2 separate regions of the Homo sapiens genome follow, and region 2 is linked to region 1. Evidence: promoter capture Hi-C in human tissues and cell types (Jung and others, 2019). All regions are on one chromosome and are shown on one strand. The core of a region is centred on a gene start or on the middle of the fragment in contact, and the rest is flanking DNA. Distances in the headings are between cores, read along the strand shown. Region 1 holds the start of ZNF382 (zinc finger protein 382). Region 2 has its middle 53 kb from the start of ZNF568.

The links. Contacts are between HindIII fragments. The study calls those that stand out against the background at their distance.
Region 2: a fragment that was not itself captured here is called in contact with the fragment with the promoter of ZNF382 in region 1 in 2 of the 25 tissues and cell types used here (aorta and liver).

What each region holds. Positions count from the first base shown.
Region 1 is chr19:36,603,676-36,608,810 of GRCh38, reverse strand. ZNF382 (zinc finger protein 382) reads right to left here and starts at 3,498. Exons shown (of 5, transcript NM_032825.5): 1 at 3,464-3,498; 2 at 1,189-1,259. It also overlaps a transcript of ZNF529 not described here. RefSeq lists enhancers at 3,047-3,106, 4,087-4,226 and a silencer at 3,467-3,526. The HindIII fragment of the contact is 9,037 bases long and covers 1-5,135 here.
Region 2 is chr19:36,966,733-36,972,237 of GRCh38, reverse strand. It overlaps a transcript of ZNF568 not described here. Among named protein-coding and RNA genes, the nearest start is that of ZNF568, 53 kb to the right of the region's middle. The HindIII fragment of the contact is 7,190 bases long and covers 1-5,505 here.

The DNA of each region.
Region 1 (5,135 bases), core at 2,249-4,748:
AATGGGAAACGGAAGAAAATGTAAGCTGGACCAAAGGAAGTAATGAGGTAAGCTTTGGAAATGTACTTTGTCTGTGGAACATACAGGTGGTGATAGCTACTGGAGGTTGAATATTCGGTTCTGACACTCTGGACAGAGGTCTAGAGTGGAGAGGGGTATTTGAGAGTCACTAGAATCACACTAAGTGTAGCCTTCAGAGTGAATCTGATTGTGCGTAGAGAAAAACGGACTGTGAAGAAGAAGAGAACCAATTAGCATCTGAGGAAAACCAGTATTTTAAAGGTTGGTGGATGAGCTAAAGAGGAATTTTCTGAAAGATATGAAAAGAGGACAAAGTACTGTTTGATCAACAATAGAATATTTCAAAAGTGGCCTGGCATATGGATTTCCTTCTCCTGCACCCGCAAATAAAAAATTAGAAGAAACTAAAAAGAAAATAACAAATCTCTAACAGCATTGGAATACTGGAAAGGTTTTCACTGGCAGCCCACAATTTGTAGGAATGGCTAGCAGACATGAATGAAAAAAGATCAGAGAGGAGGAACATAAAACGTGTTTCCTTTACAAGCCTGCAATCAAATTGCTATCCTAAACACCTCACAAAGCAGGACATCTTTCCAGAAACTAATGCTGGGATCTACCACTTCTATTTCCCAACGTACCATTGCAAAACCTAGGCTAGCGGAGATCATCAAGGTTTTTCCACGTCTGCTCCATGACTACTCACAGCTTAGGTCTCAAATCAGCATCAGGACAAGTTAAATTCATTCAAGCCATATATTCCCATTTAAATCAAGACAATACCTTTCTATTCCAGCAGTTTGTTTGTGAGAAGACTGAGAAAGGAGATGATGAATGATATACCCAATGAATATGTACAACCAGAAGGTACACTTGGGGAAGGCTTAAGTTGATTTGGTTGGAATGGAGAAATTGTGAACAGGGCTGGATACAGGGTGAGGCAGGTGAGGCACCTAGAATGCAAAATTTAGGAGGGCACAGCCCTGAGGGTACCCCTTAAATATTTCACCTCATGCCACTTGCCTGCCTCAGCCTAATCTGGCCCTGACTGAAGACTAATTTCATGGAAGCAAATCCCAATATCAGGGAAGGTTAAAGGACAGTGAAGCTCATGTTCATACACCATGAAAAAAAGTTATTTCAGAAAGAGAGGAAACATCATCTCACCTGAGACATGGCTTTGAGATTTCTAGATGAACTTTCTCTTTTGAGCTCCTCTTTTGGAAAAAGAAACAGTCCTGAGAAAGCAAAGATGGAGGATATACGTATGTGAGACCATACTTGACTCAGAACTCCCAGAATTAACTCAGTTAAATCTGCATGAATGTTCACTATTTCAGCACTTGTCCACCCTGTGTACCCTTCAGATGTCCAGGATGGTAGTTAGTGGGAAAACAGACAAATCAGGCTCCCTCACAAACACCAGAAACCCAGTCTCTTGGTAAAGTATACAGGATTCTGGGGAACCTGTTTTAGCTTGAAGAGAGGGAACACTGTGTTTTTCCCTCTGCAGCTCTGCCTTCCATCTACCTCTAACCACAGGTTTACTGTGTATTTCCAAACGGTTCTTCTTGGACTTTTTGCCAATTTACACTGATAGTAGTGGATGAGAATACCTTCCCAAGCCCTGATGAAGACAGTTGACAACTTTTAAATCTTTGCCTATCTGGTCTATGTTGTAGTTGAGAATAATCTTTTTTTTTTTTTTTTTTGAGACAGAGTTTCACTCTTGTTGCCCAGGCTGGAGTGCAATGGTACAATCTTGACTGACCGCAACCTCCACCTCCCGGGTTCAAGCGATTCTCCTGCCTCAGCCTCCTGAGTAGCTGGGATTACAGGCATGCACCACCATGCCCGGCTAATTTTGTATTTTTAGTAGAGATGGGGTTTCTCCATGTTGGTCAGGCTGGTCTCGAATTCTCGATCTCAGGTGATCTGCCCACCTTGGCCTCCCAAAATGCTGGGATTACAGGCATCAGTCACTGCACCAGGCCCGCAAAATAACTATTTTAATTACTACAGTGAGACTGGACTTATTAAAAATCTATCAAATACTTTTTATTATCTTAGCAAGCCTAAGGGAGTAGGAAACCTCACTCATATACAAGTGTTGAAAGTGGTAGTTATGCCAGGCACAGTGGCTCACACCTGTAATCCCAGTACTTTGGCAGGCCGAGGGGGCGGGGGGAGGGGATCACTTGAGGTCAGGAGTTCAAGACCAGCCTGGGCAACATGGTGAAACCCCATCTCTACTAAAAATACAAAAACTAGCCGAGCGTGGTGGCACAAGCCTGTAGTCCCAGCTACTCAGGAAGCTGGGGCAGGAGAATCACTTGAACTTCAGAGGTAGAGGTGGCAGTGAGCAGAGATCATGCCACTACACTCCAGCCTGGGCAAAAGAGCAAGACCTTGTCTTAAAACAAACAAAAAACAACAACAAAAGTGGTAGTTATGGTAAAAAAAAAAAAAAAAAAAAAATTTCCTGCATGTCCCCAATGGAATGCTATTCATTTCAACATACTGGTTTTAGTTAATATGGTGTTTCCAGGAAATGAATCTGGGAATTATGAAAATCATCTCTTCCCCTCTGATACTGTTATCTCTATTTTATTTGCTAAATTGCTACTTAGTTACAGTTTTGGAGGCAGGCTTAATGGCTACTATTCAGATAATCAAGTCTTACATAACCAACTAGCCATGGTCATAACAGAGTTCCTCAATCATTCAAATATTTAGGTCACTAAGGCCACAAAACCACCAGAAGTAACAGTAGGTTACAAACACATGCAGAGTCACAGTCAATCAAACATCCTTCAGAGAACCACCAACCTACAGGCCCCACTTGTCATTCACAACCTCAGACAGCAGCTAACACGACTCCAGGCAGTCACAACCACACCTACAAATCACTTGCAATTCTCCACACTCAAAGGCAGTCTCAAATGCGACTCACACCTAATCTAAAAATAGACACACGCAGAGGAAACCTCGCGCAGCAACACTACTCCGTTCACTTTTCACACACAATCGGCCACAACATCCCAAAGAGAGGCAAGCACCTAAAATGCAGCAGGTTGGGCGCAGGAGGCCACCCCTATTCAGCGCGCGCCCGCGCGCGCGAACACACAGCGCCCGCTCCGCGCGGGGACCCGCCGCCAGCGATGGCGCTTCCGCGGGATCAGAACGGGCAAAATCCCCCTTCGCGGAGCTCGCTCCGGGTCACCCTCAAGGTCACGCCCATGGACCACGCCCGAGGCCCGGCTCGTACAGATCGGAGCGTCTGGATACCGCGGTCCCGGTTTCCTCCTCAGAATTTCCAGGCCCGGCTCGGACTCTTGGTTACCTCCCTGGCCTCCCCACCCGGTTCCGCGTCCTTAGACAGCTCTCCCGGAACGGAGCTCCCAGTGCCCTCCTTGGCCTCCTCAGCACCCCTGGCACCCACCAAGCCTCACCCCCGGCCCAGGGTGAGTCGTCTGCGCCTGCGCACTCGCGCGTGGGCCTGAGCTCCCAGGAGTCTCCGGGGCGGCCCGTTAGTCGCCGCGCGGTGCTAGCTGCCGGCGCTCCCCTCCGTTTGCACCCACGGCCGCCCTATTGCGGCTGGCACTACGCTTCTGCCAGGACCCCGGCTCCCTTTTCCGTTGACCTGGTGTTCGTTTTCCATGTGGTGAGTTGAGGTGACCCGGGTCTGGATGCGAGAAGAGCTCACGGCAGGGGACCTGGGTTCATGGGACGCGGAGAGGGTTTGTGGAGGCAGAAGCCCCAGGCCTGTGTGCAAGTCACCTGCTGGGGAGGGAGACTGTGTGATTGTGTTTGTGTGTGCCGTTCTGTGGCTGCGTCCGTGTGTGGTGGTGTGAGTGGGCGCGCCTGTGATGGTCCCGGGGGGGCGGGGGGTGTGCACAGCAGGGGGTGTGTGTGCACAGCAGGTGCACAGCCCGGGACAGCCCTGACTGTCCCCGATTGGGCCCGCGGGACTGAGTGGGGGCGGGGCCGTTTGTGTGACGGCGCTGAGCGGTGACTATGAATGTGTCATGCTGTTATCAGTGATCCTGTGACAGCGCTGTTGTGACCCACTGGAGACTGTGATCAAAACTGGCCTGGTGCAGCTTTTGTAGAGTTTGATTTCTGCAGTTCTGGGGCTCAGGAATACGTGGACAAGGTCCCCGTATGGCTCGATCTGTGTCTGTGAAGACTCTGAGACCTTCTGTTCTAAAGCATGGCCCCTGTCGCTTTCATAATGCATAATACACAGTGGCATGCAGCCTCGCCAACCTCTGGGGCCAATTTTAAGTTACGTGGTTTCTTGGAGTTTGTTATACTGGGATTTCTTTCACTGCCTCAGTCATTTCACCTTATAACCACGTTGCACAGTGTGCAGTCAAATGGCTATCGAAAAGAAAGTTGGATATTTGAGATCCAGAATGAAGTTTCCAACTGAAAAAGCACAGCCTTGTGTTTCACATGGACAAGGCTGTGTTCTGATATGCACAGCCTCGTGTTTGATATGGAGATGTTAGAGCTGGAATTGCTCCCAAGGCAAGGTTCTGGGAAGATATGATATTGAGGCCCCAGGAGTAGGATTCGTTTCTCCAAAGATTTTGTGTGTGTGTGTGAGATGGAGTTTTGCTCTTGTTGCCCAGGCTGGAGTGCAGTGGCGCAATCTCGGCTCATTGCAACCTCCGCCTTCCGGGTTCAAGCAATTCTCCTGCCTCAGCCTCCCGAGTAGCTGGGATTACAGGCATGCACCACCATGCCCGGCTCATTTTTGTATTTTTAGTAGAGACGGGGTTTCACCATGTTGGTCAGACTGGTCTCGAACTCCTGACCTCAGGTGATCCACCCGCCTCGGCTTCCCAAAGTGCTGGGATTACAGGCGTGAGCCACCGTGCCTAGCCAAAAGATCCCTTTTGGAAGCTCTGTGGGGGCAAGTTGAATATTGCAGATCCACAGCATTTTCATAGCTGTCTAAAGGAAATTATTGTGAATACAGAAACATTTCAGTCCCAGGCTTTGGTGAACCTGACTTTTCTTTATGAAGGGAAGAGTCAACAATATTCCAGTCTTTCTCATACTTCCATCTGGTCATATTCAGCATGGGTTATGGAAGCTTGCCGGTG
Region 2 (5,505 bases), core at 1,872-4,371, 360 kb before region 1:
GTGTTACTAAAAGTGCTACTAAAATAAAAGCACTTTTGTGTTACTAAAAGTGCTACTAAAATAAACCAATTTTTTAAAATAAATACTGTATTTAAAAATGTTATAGGCTGGGCACGGTGGCTCACACCTGTAATCCCAGCACTTTGGGAGGCCAAGGCGGGCGGATCACGAGGTCAAGAGATCAAGACCATCCTGGCCAACATGGTGAAACCCTGTCTCTACTAAAAATACAAAATTTACCTGGGTGTGGTGGCGCGCACCTGTAGTCCCAGCTACTCAGGAGGCTAAGAGAATACCTTGAATCTGGGAGGCGGAGGTTGCAGTGAGCCGAGACTGTACCACTGCACTCCAGCCTGGTGACAGTGAGACTTCATCTCAAAAAAAAAAAAAAGTTATAAATAGGTCAGGCGCAGTGGCTCGCGCCTGTAATCCTAGCACTTTGGGAGGCCGAGGCAGGCAGATCACAAGGTCAGGAGATCGAGACCATCCTGGCCAACATGGTGAAACCTCGTCTCTCCTAAAAATACAAAAATTAGCCTGGCGTGGTGGTGTGCACCTGTAGTCCCAGCTACTAAGGAGGTGCATTCCAGCCTGGCGATAGAGCGAGACTGCGTCTCAAAAAGAAAAAAAACAAAGTTATAAATAGCAGAAACATAGGCACTTGGGCAATAATATCTTTAAAGTTAATTGTTAACAGCAGTTAACTTCTAGGATGTGTAATTGTGACTTTTTTTCTTTTCAGTTAAAAAGTAGTCCCTTATATTTTTGGCCATTATCGTTTCTTTCTTGTGAAACATTACTTATAACATTTCATTAAAAAAAATTCTTAAGTATTTCTAGTTTACAAACTAGAAAACAAACTACTGGACCAAAATTTAAAAATCCACAGTTTAGTACTAAAAGATAAATGAAACACAAGACTGATATACAAGAGCAAAATAAAGCAAAAACATTAGAAATGCGAAAAAAAAAACATAAAGAGTTTAAGAGTTTTTTTTTTTCTTGAGACGGAGTTTTGCTCTTGTTGCCCAGGCTGGTGTGCAGTGATGCCGTCTCAGCTCACTGCAACCTCTGCCTCCCGGGTTCAAGTGATTCTCCTGCCTCAGCCTCCCAAGTAACTGGGATTACAGGTGCCCGCCTGTATTCTTTGTATTTTTAGTAGAGACGAGGTTTCATCACGTTGGCCAGGCTGGTTTCAAACTCTTGACCTCAGGTGATCCGCCCACCTCAGCCTCCCAAAGTGCTGGGATTACAGGAGTGAGCCACCGTGCCCAGGCCTGGGTTTAAAAGAATTTTGAGGCTGTTATGTACAACTCTATAACCATGGTAGAGGAAACTGTAGATTTTCTAATGAAATTTAAATCACTGATTTCTACTAAGAAGTAGAAAATCTGAACAGAATAATAACCATAATGAAATGCTTTATTTTATTTAAGATATTTTAAAGTATGTACAATTAAAAAGGTACCATACCCAGATGGTTATAGCTGAATTTTAGCTAATTTTTGAACTAATAATGATTATTCAATGTATTTATATCCAACTTATATATGCTCTCCAATGAATTTTTGTCTAAGTGGCATAAAATTTATTAAAGACATGGCCGGGCATGGTGGCTCATACCTGTAATCTCAGCAGTTTGGGAGGCTGAGGCAGGAGCATCACTTTGAGGCTAGGAGTTTGAGACCAGCCTCGGCAACATGGCAAAACCCCCTTTCTACAAAGATTAGCCGGATGTGGTGGCGCACACCTGTACTTCCAGCTACTGGGGAGGCTGAGGCTGGAGGATCACTTGTACCCGGAGGCAGAGGTTGCAGTGAGCCAAGATTGGGGCACTGCACTCCAGCCTGGGCGACAGAGCGAGACTGTCTCCAAAAGAAAGAAAAGAAAAGAAAAGAAATTCAATAAAGACAGGCCAAAAGAAAAGTATTAATTTCATTTGTGGTTATAGATGCAAAAGTTCCAAATAAAAGGCTGATTTCAATAATGTATAAAATTTATATAGTTATGTCAAAGGATTGGGAAAAAAGAAATTCATAAATTATGCCAATAAGACAAAGTGGTAGAATAATGCCCCAAGACGTTCAAATCCTAACCCCCAGAACCTGTGAATATATCTTACATGGCAAAAGAGGCTCTGCAGCAGATATGCTTCAACTAATAATCTTGAGATGGAGGCCAGGCATCGTGGCTCATGCTTGTAATCCAGCACTTTGGGAGGCCGAGGTGGGCGGATCACTTGAGGTAAGGAGTTTGAGATCAGCCTGGACAACGTGGTGAAACCCAGTCTCTACTAAAAATACAAAAATTAGCCAGGCATGATGGTGCATGCCTGTAGTCCTAGGTACTCGGGAGGCAGAGGTTGCAGTGAGCCAAGATCTCGCCACTGCACTCCAGCCTGGGCGGCAGAGTGAGACTTGATCTCAAAAAAAAAAAAAAAAAAAAAAAAAAAAAAATCTTGAGATGGGAAGATTATGCTGGATTACTGAGTAGGCCCAACAAGGGTCCTTAAAAGAGGAAGGCAGGAGGGTCAGAGTCAGAGAGGAAATCATGACAACGAAAGCGGGGATGTGCTTTGAAGACGGAGGAAAGTGCCATAAGCAAAAGAACGCAGGCAGCTTCTAGAAGCTGGAAAAGACAAGGAAATAGATTCTCCCCTAGAACCTAGAGAAAGAACACGGTTTTATGACACCTGGATTTTAGCCCACAGGACTCATTTCACACTTCTGACCTCAGTATCTAGATGAAGAAATCTTCCCTCAGCAGGAAGAGGTTGGGATGACCTGTCATTCATCAAAAAACTATATCCTTGATAAGCCTGTCCTTCCTTGCTTGAGATATTTTCTTTCGCTCTCTTTCAATTAGGATATAGAACTTTTGCATTCCTTCTCCTGAAACTTCCTCTCTTATGGTAACGAATCAGAGAACTGGTTCTTTAGTTCTGTTCCAGTGGGGTCTTTGGGTATGTCCCCAATAAGCTCAGTGCCTTCCCACTTCCTAGGCACATTTACTTCAGTTGTTTATTTTGGCAAGTTTCAAATCTCCAGAAGCATTGAAAGAATACTACAAAGAACTTGTATTGGGGCTGGGTGTGGTGGCTCACACCTGTAATCCCAGCACTTTGGGAGGCTGAGGTGGCTGGATCAGGAGGTCAGGAGATTGAGACCATCTTGGCTAATACCGTGAAAGCCCGTTTCTACTAAAAATACAAAAAATTAGACAGGCATGGTGGCACGTGCCTGTAATCCCACCTACTCAGGAGGCTGAGGCAGGAGAATCGCTTGAACCTAGGAGGCGGAGGTTGCAGTGAGCTGAGATTGTGCCACTGCACTCTTGCCTGGGGGACAGAGCAAGACTCTGAAAAGAAAAAAAAAAAGAACTCATTCATGCTTGTCCCTTAGATTCACAAATTGTCAACAATTTAACAATTTGCCACTTTTGATTCTCTCTCTACCATTTGAAAATAAATTCAAGAATCATTATACTTCAGTACTAAACATGTTTTTTTTTTTTTGAGGCAGTGAGCCAATTTGATCACTTGGCTAAGATGGTAATGGCCACATGTCTCCATTGTAGTTATTTTTCCCCTTTTTAATTGGTAAGTAACCTGAGGGATGATAACTTCAGACCATATGAATCTCCTCTTTTTTAACAATCATATGCATATATATATATATAGTTTTTTTTTTTTTTTGGAGACAGAGTCTTGCTCTGTTGCCAGGCTGGAGTGCAGTGGCGCAATCTCAGGTCACTGCAACCTCTGCCTCCTGGGTCCAAGCTGGGACTCCAGACACCCGCCACCACGCCCGGCTAATTTTTGTATTTTTAGTAGAGATGGGGTTTCACCATGTTGGCCAGGCTGGTCTTGATCTCCTGACTTCGTGATCTACCTGCCTCGGCCTCCCAAAGTGTTGGGATTACAGGTGTGAGCCACTGCACCTGGCCCATATGCATATTTAATATAAGGTATATGTTACATTTTCATGTAAATTAATATGTGTTACTCTCATATAAATTTGTATGTATTTTTCTCATATAAATATGAATCATGAAATTACATTTTATAAGTGGACTTTCTACCATGTATGGATATTATGGTGTACAGTTGACACACATATATACATATTATTCTTCAGTGTTGGATAACTGATCCATGTTATATGCTTTGTAGGACATCTTAGATATTTTATGGGATAATTTCAAATACAACCAAGTTTTTATTTTGTTCCTGGGTTTTCAATTTAGCCCACAAGAAACTACAACACCACTGTTAAGAGATATGCATTTTCATGTTGTTGAGATTCTCCTTCATGCCCAGTGTTCTATTCCAAGCACTAATGGGGCAAAAACACCTATCTTGTAGAGAAAGATGAGATTCTTTACTGTGGACATTATGATCTGCCATGGAGACAGGACCATTGTGATGAAACAACTCATTATGCTTTTGGTTGATGGCAAACTGTCCTGCCTTATGAGACTTTAAGCAGTTGGGTATCATGGAAAGCTTAAGTGTGAAGGTCTTGGTGAATGATGATGGGCTTTTGCCAGAAATGGATGGATGAGAAGCTTTTTAAGCATCAGCAGCCAGCTTCTATGGTCAGTTTGTATCAGTCTGGATACAGTCAGGAAACAGAAACCACAAAGGAATTTTTTGCTTGTTTGTTTTGTTTTTTTTGAGAAGGAGTATTGCTCTGTTGCCTAGGCTGGAGTACAGGGGTGCTATCTCAGCTCACTGTAATATCTGCCTCTCGGGTTCAAGTGATTCTCGTGCCTCAGCCTCCCAAGTAGCTGGGATTACAGGCACCTGCCACCATGCCCAGCTAACTTTTGTATTTAAGTAGAGATGAGGTTTCACCATGTTGGCCAGGCTGGTCTTGAACTCCTGACCTCAGGTGATCCACCCACCTCAGCTTCCCAAAGTGTTGGGATTACAGGCATGAGCCACTGTGCCTGGCCAAAGGAATTTAAACAGAATTATAATATAAAGAATTATTAAGCAATGATAGGACAGAAACTATAGGGCCATGAGGAGGACTCTAAAAGGCCCTTTAGAGCTGAGGGAGAGTACCCAAAAGAAAACATACTTGGAAGGAGGTCTTTCCCAAGGGTGAGTTTCAAACCTCACTGAATGTGGTTGTAGCTCAGTGTGATGCTGGAGAAGTTTGCTACGTTGCCAGGTACTCAAAGAGAGTTGGAGTGGCACTGTAGGCCTTAGGCCTGAGATGCATGGTTTCCACATCAGGACAGCTACAGGAAATTACTCCCCATTGCACAAGCAAGCTACGGCTGATGGCCAGGATGCAGAGGAGTTTGGGTGCCACTGTGAGCATGAGGTCTGGAGCACACGGTCTCTCATGAGAAGGGCCTCAGCAAGGTAGTCTGCCAGGCCCAGGCCAGATATGCAAGATCTCCAAGAGACTGCATGCTCTGGAGCACAGCTGGCGCAGAGCATCGCTGAATATTCTCACATACACACCTCCCACTGATGGACCATGAAGCAAGAGC